Linked DNA regions of Homo sapiens: regions 2 and 3 are each linked to region 1. Evidence: promoter capture Hi-C in 16 types of primary human blood cells and fetal thymus (Javierre and others, 2016). All regions are on one chromosome and are shown on one strand. The core of a region is centred on a gene start or on the middle of the fragment in contact, and the rest is flanking DNA. Distances in the headings are between cores, read along the strand shown. Region 1 holds the start of CFAP90 (cilia and flagella associated protein 90). Region 2 has its middle 11 kb from the start of LINC02236. Region 3 overlaps LINC02236 (long intergenic non-protein coding RNA 2236).

The links. The method cuts DNA at HindIII sites, captures the fragments that hold promoters and counts their contacts. A CHiCAGO score of 5 or more calls a contact.
Region 2: a contact is called between a fragment that was not itself captured here and the fragment with the promoter of CFAP90 in region 1, in 2 of 17 cell types (total CD4 T cells and naive CD4 T cells). The highest score is 8.7, in total CD4 T cells.
Region 3: a fragment that was not itself captured here is called in contact with the fragment with the promoter of CFAP90 in region 1 in 1 of 17 cell types (activated CD4 T cells); the score reaches 7.8 in activated CD4 T cells.

What each region holds. Positions count from the first base shown.
Region 1 is chr5:7,849,508-7,853,376 of GRCh38, forward strand. It overlaps CFAP90 (cilia and flagella associated protein 90), which reads right to left and starts at 1,626. Exons shown (of 3, transcript NM_001089584.3): 1 at 1,368-1,626. The coding sequence starts at 1,514. It also overlaps a transcript of MTRR not described here. The HindIII fragment of the contact is 6,768 bases long and covers 1-1,953 here.
Region 2 is chr5:6,782,847-6,786,715 of GRCh38, forward strand. No RefSeq gene overlaps it. Among named protein-coding and RNA genes, the nearest start is that of LINC02236, 11 kb to the right of the region's middle. The HindIII fragment of the contact is 5,319 bases long and covers 1-3,869 here.
Region 3 is chr5:6,802,481-6,806,349 of GRCh38, forward strand. The region is part of intron 1 of LINC02236 (long intergenic non-protein coding RNA 2236); the gene reads left to right. Among named protein-coding and RNA genes, the nearest start is that of LINC02236, 8.5 kb to the left of the region's middle. RefSeq lists an enhancer at 1,287-1,787. The HindIII fragment of the contact is 3,393 bases long and covers 508-3,869 here.

The sequences.
Region 1 (3,869 bases), core at 376-2,875:
AATGAATGCTCCTTTTCAGTAATGACTCCCCTGCCCCTGCATCTTGAGCAAGACAAACCGGGGACATTTAGGAACAATGGTGAGAAGAAAGGAGTAGATGACCCTCAACTGGCTTTGAATTTACTACTTTTCCTGCCTTTGGCCGCTGGTGGGAGATGCAGGGTGCCCAGTGGCCTTCGCAGACTCGCAGATCCCATCCCAGGAAATGCACGGGCCGGTGTGGCCAGGACAGAACAGAGGGACCACTCTCAGTCCAGCCCTCCCTGCAGGCGGCTCGCCAGCTATTCCTTCTGGTCTTCGGTTTGCAGGAGGGCAGAGGGTTTCCCGCGCCCTGGACCATCCGGGCGTAGTCCCGGCAGCAAGGCCTTCTTTCCTTGCTAGCCTGGGCCTGCCGCAGACAGACCCCAGAGGGAGCCGCGCCCAGCCCGCTGGGCGGCCCCGGCTTCCCGCGACCCCCTCCAGACCCTGGGCAGAAAGAGCGCCCTGCTGTCCCGACAGAGCCACTGTGCTTTTGAGGGATCCTGACACCTAGTGGCTCCCGCTCCCTTCTCCGAAGAGCACCGGGTCCTATCTGAGCATTCCCGCGACTCCCAGCCCCTGATCGCAGCTAAGACACCCATTCGCGCACCCGGCTTCTCCCACATCCTCGTCCCAGGGGTTCAGCTGACACTGGTAGTCGCCTGAGCTGTACTCTTTGGGGCCCAGGCGCCTTGGCGGGAGCTCACCCTCCCTGTCTCCCCAGCTGACCCTGCCGCGCCCCCTTCATCTCCGCACGCTCCCACCCGGCCCCCTCCACAGGCTGTCCAGCCCCGCCCCTCGGAACCCACCCCTGGTAGTGAAGCCCTGCCCCCAGGGTCCCTGCCCGAAGGTGCGCTCCTCCTCTAGGGCCCCTCTACTCTGTGAGCTCTGTCCCCGATCCCTAGCGGTGCAGCCCCTCCCAGGGCCCCTCCTCGTTGTGAGCTCCTCTCTCCAGTCCCCGGCGGCGCATCCCTGCCCCCAGGCCCCCTCCCCTAAGGTGAACCCTGCCCCAAGGCCCCAGTCCCTAAGGTGAACCCCGCCCCCAGGCTGCCTCCCCTAAGGTAACCCCGCCCCCAGGCCCCCTCCCCTAAGGTGAGCCCCGCCCCTAGGCCCCCGCCCCTAAGGTGAGCCCCGCCCCCAGGCCCCTTTCCCTAAGGTGAACCCCGCCCCTACGCCCTCCCTCCGAGGGAGAGCCCCGCCCCAAGACCCTTCCGCTGGGGTGATCCCTTCTCCCCCGCCCCTCCGCGGCCGCCCGCCCCTGCCCAGCCGCCCAGCCGCCCAGCCGCCCAGCCGCCCAGCCGCCCAGCCGCCCAGCCTTCCGGTCTCCGCGCCCAGTCCGCGGTCCTCACCCGCGCCGGGCGGTAGTAGTAGCTGTGCTCTTTGGGGTCCAGGCGCCGCGGCGGGATGTAGCTGAAGGCGGACTGCGCCGAGACGGGCGGCGGCCTGGGCTTGCCCCGCAGCGTGGACGCGGTGGTCTCCTCCTCGTCGTCCTCCATGCCGCCACCGTCCAGCGCCCCCGCCTTGGCCGCGGTCCGTCCCGCCCGCCCAGGGGCCCAGTCGGAGTCTGCAGGCCTCAGGTTGCTCAGCGCCAGCGTCTAGCCCGCGTCTGTGTTCGGTCGTTGCCTGGAAACCGCCGCCTGGCGACCCGGAGCTGCCCTGCAGCATTCCCGCTCCAGGGTGGAGCGACCCTCCCCTCCTCCCTCCCGGCCCCTCGACTACACCTGGGGTCTCTCCTTCCTTCCTCCTCGGGAGGAGCCCGACTGGGAGACGCCGCGGGGACTACCCATTTCCAGCCCGCTCACCTTTCCCATGCAGCAGCCCCTGCTTCACTCACTGATCACTCCTTCGCGAGACCATTAGTGACTGAGCACCTAGCGCATGGTGTGTCAGGAGCTGGAGATTGAGCCTTGAACGGAGCAGGCCTTGTCCACAGGAAGCTTACAGTCTGGAGAAGACACATGAAAGACGCGAAGAAGCCAAATGACTTGCCGAGGCTCCAGGGCAGCGCTGTCCAATAGAAACATGATGAGAGCCACGTGTGTCGTTTCTTATTTGACTCAGTAAGTCCAAAACGTTATCATTTCAACAAATGGCACTAGCTGCCTTTCAAGCTCTCGGTGGCCACGTGTGGCTAGCAGTTACAGTATTGGCCAGTGCAGGTGTAAGGCTGCATGAATTTACAGAATCTGGCAGAACTCAGCTGCTGTGGACAGGGCTCTTGCAATCCTTTGCCAGTGTGTTTACGTTGGCCCTTGATCTGAATGCTGGGTCAATACCTGCGTTCCGTTTGTTGAAAATGTGTTAAGCTGTATACTCGTGATTGGTGGGTGTACAGCCAAGAAAAGTTAAAAACAAACAAACAAAAAAAGCCATGATGACCAAGGCTTGGGAAATGCTTTAGCCAGCGTGCCTGGGAAGGCCAGCCTTGCTGAGAAGGTGGTGTTTGAGATGAAGCATAGCGATAATGAGAAGCCAGTTCTGTGAGTCTGGCAATCCCTTCCAAGCCAACTTGGTCCTCTGAGGCAGAGACAATCTTGTGTTTGAATGGCAGCAGGAAGTGGGGTGGTGTGGCCTCATGAAGCCAGAAACTGGTAGGAAGTGAAGGTGAACAGATAGGTGGGGGCCTGATGGAGAGATCTTACAGATGATGGAAGGAGCAGTGCCCTGCCTTCTTCCCCATCCCTGCAACTAGGTAGGAATCTCTTGTCTGCCATTCTGTGATGCAGGCTGGTGGCTTAAGATGCCTCTCTCATTCTGAGGCACCTGGTGATCCACTCTGTAGAGGTCTCCAGAGTTCTAGAGATCCTTCTGGGCAGGATTTAAGACATCCCGGTGCCACCACGCTTTTTCTCTCTCTTTTTATTTATATCTGTCTCTCTCGTGGGTCCCCATGAGCTTCCTGAGAAACCCATGTGCCTTCTTTGTCCCACTAACACATCTTTTTGCTCCATGGCCAGGCAGAACACAAGTCAGCCATGAGTCAAGGGTCAGACACCTGCCCACCATGTCTCTAAGCCCCAGGGGACCTAGCAACCTCATTGGAGCCACTTGGAGAGGGTGACATATCCCTGGTGCTTGGAGATGGAGCACCATCTCTCCTACATGTGAAGCAAAGGAAAAGGGGCTCTTATTTTTCTCCCATGGGCTGAAGTCATGAAAGGCATGACTCATACTTTTTTGCTTTTTTGGCCTCATTAAAGCAGCAGCCAAATATGTTTTTTTTTTTTAAGCCCTTATAATCTACTGCCTCTCTCAACTTCTCTCAATGTCTCCAAATACACAAGAGAGGTCAACTAATGGTCACAAGATTTTGTAAGCTTTGCATTGGTGACCCAGTATCATACTTTGGAAAGTGAAAGTACTTGAAACCAATTATCTTGGGAATTCAGCTAAAACTGAGACCGAGATAATTTCTTAGTAAAAGAAATTAGTAAAGTTTACACAGTTATACAGATGTGAATCTGCTAACTTCAGTTCAGTCGGTGACATTTTGTCATGTCCTAGACCAAGAGCTCTTGAGGGCAAGGCTACCTACATCTTTTTCTTCTTGGATGGAGATATGGTTAGGCTTTGTGTCCCCACCTTAATCTCATCTTGAATTGTAATCCCCATAATCCCCACATGTCAAAGGAGTGACCAAGTGGAGATAATTGAATCCTGGGGGCCATTTCCCCCATGCTGTTCTTGTGATAGTGAATTCTCACAGGATCTGATGGTTTTATAAGGGGCTCCTCCCCTTTTGTTCAGTGCTTCTCCTTCCTGCCACCTTGTGAAGAAGGTGCCTTGCTTCCCCTTTGCTTTCTGCCGTGATTGTAAGTTTCCTGAGGCCACCCCAGCCATACTGAACTGTG
Region 2 (3,869 bases), core at 921-3,420, 1.1 Mb before region 1:
TGAAACATATTTTCTGATGAATGCTGTACTGGTAGGGATTTAACTTGCCAATGCCAAACTTCCAATGCCAAAACCATAGTAGCGGGTCAATTTAACAATCGTTATTTATTCTTGAATGAACAAATAAATGAGTTTCTAGGCTTTATCTCTCCACGGATGGTGTCGCCCCTTCCTGAATTGGCACGTCCCTGTACCTTTTAGGAAGTCTGGTAGGGTGCACAACCATCCCTCTTCATTCTTTTCCTTTAAAGGTTCTGACTATTGTTACATAGTTCCTCTTCCATATTACTCTGAGACTCAGCTTGTCTAGTTCCATTAAAATCTTTGCACTGCTGAATCTTTTCATTTTTGAATACAATAAATCCCACAACATAGTCAGGTCTTTTAAATGAGTTTGTCAGTAAGGTTTTATAGTTTTCTCTGTAATCTTGAACATTTCTTGTTAAGTTTCTTTCTCGGTTTATTATAGTTTTTTTATTATATATGAGATTTTTCTATGCATTTCTAATTGGTTCTTTCGGATGCATAGGAAAGTTAATGGTTTTAAAGATATTGATCTTGGCTGGGTGCTGTGGCTCACACCTGTAATCCCAGTGCTTTGGGAGGTCGAGGCGGGTGGATTGTCTGAGGTCAGGAGTTCGAGACCAGCCTGACCAACATGGTGAAACCCTGTCTCTACTAAAAATACAAAATTAGCCGGGCATGGTGGCAGGTGCCTGTAATCCCAGCTACTTGGGAGGCAGGAGAATTGCTTGAACCCAGGAGGCAGAGGTTGCAGTGAGCCGAGATCACGCCATTGCACTCCAGCCTGGGCAACAGAGTGAGACTGTCTTAAAAAAACAAAAAACAAAAAACAGAAATATGTATATATCTTGTCTAGCACACTGTTCATAGCCAGTGTTTAAAATATGACACCTTGTTTAAGTGCTATTTTCTAAAGACAGTTGTGTAGATTTTTAAGAGGCAGTCGCAGTGGTTCATTTTATATGTTAACCTGACTGGGGCAACGAATGCCCAGATAGCTGGTAAGACAGTATTCTGGATGTGTCTGCAAGGGTATTTCTGGAAGAGATTAGCATTGCAATCTGTAGCCAAATGAAGATTCCCTTCCCCCATGTGGGCAGGCATTGTGCAATTCACAGAGGGCCCAAGTAGAAAAAAAGGCTGAGAAAGGGGGAGTTCATTCTCTGCTGGAGCTGGAACATCCATCTTCTCCTGCCCTCTGGTATCAGACCTCCTGGCTCCCTCCCTTTCCCCTACCTCACTTCTCAGGCCTTTGGACTCAGAGACTGAATCACATCACCAGCTTTCCTGGTTCCCTGGCTTGTAGATGGCAGACAGTCTGACTTCTGGGCCCCCAGAATCACATGAGCCAATTCCCATAAAAAATTTTTCTCTCTCTCAAACTCTCTTCCTCCTATGTATGTAATATATCCTATTGATTCTGTTTCTCTGGAGAATCCTGATTAATACACGGTCTGAACTCAGAACATCACGCGTGTCCATACAGTGAAGAGTGTTGCACAAAGTGGCAGAGTGAATGGCACAAGCAGCCAGAAATTGCTTGTCCCTGGGAAAGAGCTGGAATGAAATGCTCCCCCAGGCTGGCCAACTGTGCTGTGGCTACCTGGGCCTCAGGGGAGGAGGGAGCAGTGGAGAGAACCAGGGCCCTGTGAGCAGGGAGGTCCAGGTTTCCTCCAAAAGAGGAATGTGGAGGCAGAATGGAGATCACATTGGGGCTGTTGCTTCCAGCTCTTCTGGAATCTGGAAGCACTCAAGTTGGTGGCTGTGTCTGGCTAAGGTTTCAGATGAGCTAAGAAGCGGAAGACAGTCCACTGTTGCCAGTCCCTTTAGAGAAGGAGGGAGCCAGGCTGAGAGGGCAAATCTACTGACCCAGGACAGCTGGAAGCTAGGGAGGGACGAGCTCCCGTGCATCGCAATAGATGCAATGGACGTGACGTGCAATCATCGGAGTCAGGGTTTAAGGCTGGGCTGCTCCACCTCTTCTGAGTGCTAAGAATCCCCTGGAATGTTTTCTAAAAACGTGGTTTCACTCGTTTGATCCTAAAGATTATGATGCTGGAGTCTGGGGGCAAAGCTCAGAGCTCTTTATTTTTAACAAGCATCCCAGGTAACTCAAAAGTAGCAAATACTGGTTTAATGTGCATTATCTTTGACCATTTGCAAGTGGGTTCTTAAGTTAACATAGTAAATTGAAAGATGAGACAGGTGCGACACATTATTCAGGGAAACCCTTCTGTTTCAAAGAATGACTGCTTGGCCCATCTGACTTGTGGTGGTAAAGGCAGGAAGATGAAATAAAGCACCCAGTGTGTGCAGTGTTTAGCATGAATGAAGTTAGAAGGAATGAAATCTACGTACAATTTGCCTACATAGCAGCTGCATGAAAGTGAGCTGGCTTGTGATACGGCAGCTTAGAAATAGGGCAGCTTAGAAAACCAGATTGGTGGGGGCAAGCAGGTGAAGGGAGGCCGGGGGTCCCCCATGACCTATACTTCCTTTTCCCTTTGCAAGCCCTAACCTGCTGCTCCTCCAACCCTTGACCAAGGGAGAGGATGGGCTCCCTGGGGAGGGCTGAATGAGGGTGGAGCATGATGTGTGTGTGTGTGTGTGTGTGTTGGGTGGATGTGTATATGTGAGGTATGTTGTGTGCGTGGTGTGTATTGTGTTTGTAGTGTGTTTATGTGTGCTGTGTGCTCTATATTGTGTGCATGAGCATGTGTGCATGTGTGTAGTATGGTGTGTATTGTGTATATGTGTGTGTTACGTATGGTTTGTATTGTGTATGTAGTTGTTTATGTGTGGTGCGTGCTATGTATTGTGTGTATCAGCATATGTGCATGTGTGTAGTATGGTGTGTATGTATGTGTGTGGTGTGTATTGTATATGCAGGGTGTGAATGTGTGTGTGGCATATTGTGTGTGTATGTATGTAATGTGTGTGTGTGTTGTGTGTGTATGTGTAGTGTCTGGTGTGTATTGTGTGTATAATGTGCGTGTAGTGGGCTGTGTGTGTGTGTGTTGTGTATGTAGTGTGTAAGGTGTATGTGAGTGTGCTTGTGGCATGTATTGTGAGTGTGTGTCTCTAATGTGAGGTTTGAAGGGCCTCACAGTTATGCCCACAAAGGTCACTTGGTCTTTCCTGGAGACGCCTCATGGGAGTTTTCACTGTGGCTTCCTGCCACTTGCTGTGGTCTTAAAAAAAGTAAAGAGAGTTACAAATCATTCCTTGTTTGCAGCATAAATTGCAGATGATAATTCAAATTCCTGCATCAGGTGGAAAGTAGCAGATTTAAAACACTGCAAAGAAGGGGCTGAGCAGTGAGACGGATGCTTTGGAACAATCGAGAAAGTAAGAGCCAGCTGTAAGGTTGCCTGCAGCCATGGAGCAATGAAGTGTCAAGGTCAAAGATCCCCCCAGGTCACGCAGTCCTGCCACTCTCCCTCCCTCTATGGCCCTGCGCACTTCCAGTGGCATAGCTAGGGTGGATGAAGGGGACACCTCTGACCACATCTCTCTGCCCTCTGACTCAAGTCCTTCCTGCTATAATGAAATCCCCCATGCTCCCTGAGTTTGGCATCTACTTAATCAAAGAATGTGGAGACTTAGTTCTCAGGAGGGCCGCTACTGAGTGGGTATGCCACTGGTCAAGAGGGTAACAGGAGACAGAAGACCCAGGAGGAGACTTTGGCCTAAATGGATCAGCAACACCACAGAGCATCCACTCCCCCAGAGCATCACCCGGAAGGACCATCCGTTCGGAGACATCCTGGGAGAACAAGAGGTTTCTTGTCTGACTCTAAAATTTATTTTATCAGTGTATCTAGGATTGGGCTGAGTTTAAACAG
Region 3 (3,869 bases), core at 954-3,453, 1.0 Mb before region 1:
AAAAGAATGAGATCATGTCCTTTGTAAGGACATGGTTGGAGCTGGAGGCCATTATCCTTAGCAAACTAACGCAGGAACAGAAAACCAAATACTGCATCTTCTCACTTATAAGTGGGAGCTAAATGATGAGAACACATGGACACATGGCAGGAACAACACACACTGGGGTCTAGCAGAGGAGGGCAGAGGGTGGGAGGAGGGAGAGGATCAGGACAAATAACTAATGGGAACTAGGCTTAATACCTAGGTAAGGAAATAATCTGTACAACAAACCCCCATGACATAAGTTTACCTACGTAACAAACCTGCACTTGTACCCCTGAACTTAACAGTTAAAAAAATTTAAAAAGGGTTTTTCTGTTTCAATTATACGTCAAGAAGAGCTGCTCTCATTACCTGTGTCACAGGCAAATGAAAGCTTTGTTTGATTACTTAAGTAATCCAGGAGAACATGTAACTCATCATTTTCAGGAAGGTGGTCAGTGAAGAGAAGAGGAAGAGAGTAGAAGCTTCTTTTAGGATGGAGGAGAAGAAGACAGTTGGAGTGGGACAAGTCCCATTTGATGGTGTGTGGTCGCTACAGCAGGTACAGTGAAGTGGCTCCTGTTTTGGAAATGAGGGAAGCTCCGATTCCCCTGAGAGAGTAGAAAAAGGTCAGGATGGGTGCTAATGGGATGCACTAGGTGGAGGGCAGCTGGGAAGCTACCTCTGTGCTTGCACAGTCTCCTCAGATGGGAATTATTTCTCTACTTCTGTCATATTTGTCTTGGTGTAACTGAACCCGCATCTTAAAATTCCCTGATTACCTCAGTTGGAAGTGAGTTCTCCTACATTTGCGCTCCTGAAACACGTGAGAATATTAGTTGTTCTGAATGAGCTGTTACTGTACTCACGGGTGGTACAGTTTAGAGAGGGTGACGTGTTTGTTATGAGTATGGGCTCTGGACCTAGCCTCCCTAGGCCCAAATCTCCGTTATCTGCTTTCACTCACTGGACCTAGGGCAAGTTAACTTTTCTCATCTGCAAAATGGACTAGATCTTGAAAGCAATGTCAGTGCATTTTGTGAGGATAAAACAAGTCACTGCATTTATTTGATTAATGTGTACAAAGCACTTTGAGTACACTGAGTACTCACTAATGCTAGCTGCTACATTTCCTACTAGTGTAATTGAACGAATACACACACTTAGAGTATATTACACTTTAAATAAACGTTATCGTATGTACTTGATTGTCACTATTTGGTGATAGAGACCCTGTCTTCCTTGCAGTGAAGGGCACCATAGTGGCTAAACTTAGAGTTACTTTAGAAAAACCAGGTGTTAGGGTGCCCCCAAGAGCATTGCCAGTGTGAGGGAACAGTATCAAAGAGGACTTCACAGATGACAGTTAAGGTTTCAGGTCCACATAGGTCTTAACTATAAATTGTGACAGCGTAAGGGCTGAAGGTCTGAGAGTGTGTGTGCTCACTAAGAGGCTAGGGGTTTCAAGTTTCCTGAAATAACTGCAAGAACTGCGCAACACAGAGAGAACCTACAGGGAAAGAAAGGAAGGGGCCGGGAGCTTGGACTCACAGTAAGGTCCTGGGATGGGGATTGAAAACCAAAAGCAACTGTGATGACACTCTGCTGCAGCTGGTGGGCAAAGCTGGGAAGAGCCGGAACCCTGGCTTCCTGTTCCACCTCCATAGGACCCATCCCTGCTGCTCCATGCCCTCTCTGAGGATCCACCAGTGCAAATGGTCATCTCAGCCTCCTAAGAGTCAGCCCTCTTGTGAATCCTCCTGCAGATACAAACAAGGCTGGGATGTTGCTTGCCCTTCAGTTGGGGGTTGTCTCAGGCAGAGGCCCTAAGGGATGGTGGTGACACCAGGCCAGACGGGAGAGCCTGGCTGTTTGCCTGAGAGTTCCAGCTTTGCCCCCAACAGCCATGAGACAGCTGTTCTCATGCCAAGAAAATGAATTTATACAGTGAAGTAAATCAAATTGTAAAGAACAATGTGATTAGAGAAAAAAAATCGTTTGTTATCTTGCAGTCCCCGGACATGATATATTCGTGGCCCAGGACCTTTTAAACAAAGAAATAATAAGAAACCATTTAGAAAAACAAATAAACTGGCAAATGTTTGTGAAATATTTATAAGATGCAGAGCCATTTTACATGCAAGAATTTATTAGCTAATTTTTTTTGTCTTGTGAAGGACTATTTTTGGAGACAATGAAATTGTTCTGGAAAAATACTTAAATTGGTAAGGATTAAAAACACACAAGAAAGCCAAGACTTTAATTACTATTATGATTTAGTTATATTTTTTGGGGAAAAATTATGCAAATCTATTTGTACTTTTAATCTTTTGTCAACATTTTCCCTATATTCATAAGTTATCCAACTTATCAAACAGAAAAAAGTCAGATGTATGAGGGGAAGAGATCTGGCTCAGCTAAAATTACTTGGTCTCTAACTCTGTGATGATGTGAGACCTTAGGAATCTCAGACTTGCTGTATTAGTGAGTAAGTAAAAATCCTGGGTTTTAGAACATTTAAAGGAAATGGTGTTTATTCTCCCTTATTCGTCTCACTTGGCAGTGGAATTATTGCAATTTCAGGGCAATGTACTTGAACAGTGATGTTGGCAAAAGGGAGTAAGAGTAGACAGGATAGTGAATGATTAGAAACCATTTTGCAGAGGGAGCAGTTGAAGGAATGGGGTTCTTTACACAGAGAGCAGAATACTGAGTGGGAAGCCATAGGCCAGCCCTCCAATGTATGATGGTTTCAATGTCCTCCTTCTTTCTCTGTCCTCTTCCCAGGAGGGGCGCTTGACCAGATGGGTGAGAGAGTGCAGAGCTTTGTGCATAGCAGTGCAGACAAGTCGTGCAATAGGGTGTGGTCAAAACGACCAAGAAACAGGATTGCGTGTCATGTGGGTGCTTCAGCTTGAGGAATCTGGAAATCCTAAAACATCCTTCAATTTTCCAGAGGACTTGAGATGTCTGTCCTTTTTGAGATGGACAGGTTCCCCTGAGAGCTGTCTCACGGTGGTCTACAAAGGGGGCACAGCAAGATGGACTTGGGAGTTTCTGTAGCTCTGCCGGCCAAACTCCAGCCAGGGGGAAGCCCATGGAAACTTGCTGGCAGTCCCAGCCTCTTAGAGTGATCCCCTGGGAGCCTCCCAGACTTTTTAAAGGGCGAGTTTGAGGAGAAGAAAGACATGTCGCTCCAAATTAGGCCACCAGTTTCTCTGCTAGTTCACTGCAACACTTTGTACATTTCCAGGTCATCTCTTACATACGCTGGAGATGTGTGATGGAGCTTGATGCTAATTAGCAGGCTAGATCTGTGATGTTTTTATTAAGTTGGGTCACAAAGTGTTCAATGCCTCTCTCTCTAGAATGATGATGCACTCATCAACCTGTCCTAAGTTCTGCGGCTTTAGCCAAAATTCTTAAAGAATAGGAAAAGTCCCACTTCACACCGTGTTCCATCAGGCTTTAACTGGTCACTGTACTGCTTGGTACAACACTCTGTTCATTTGTGTGAGTAAATAGAAGTAAGAGTCATTGAACTCAAGGAGATATAGCACTCTATTGAGGCTTGAGTCTTAGCAGGTGGTACCTTGGCAGAGAAGTGATTTCATTCTTAGAACTTTTAAAGGAAGTTTCTGGGAGAGTCACCTCTTGGGTGGAGGTTGGGTTTGATCTCAAGGACTTTGTGTTTGAGTTTATAGGACTCTGCCTAAGCAAACATAGAGCTGTCTAGCCTAAGTGGTGTTCTTTGATGCACACTGGGACTTTCTTGATCGGTTATTAAATGTAATTCATTGTTATAAATGTGCCCTTGACAAAAATGGATGTTCTTTAACTTTTGA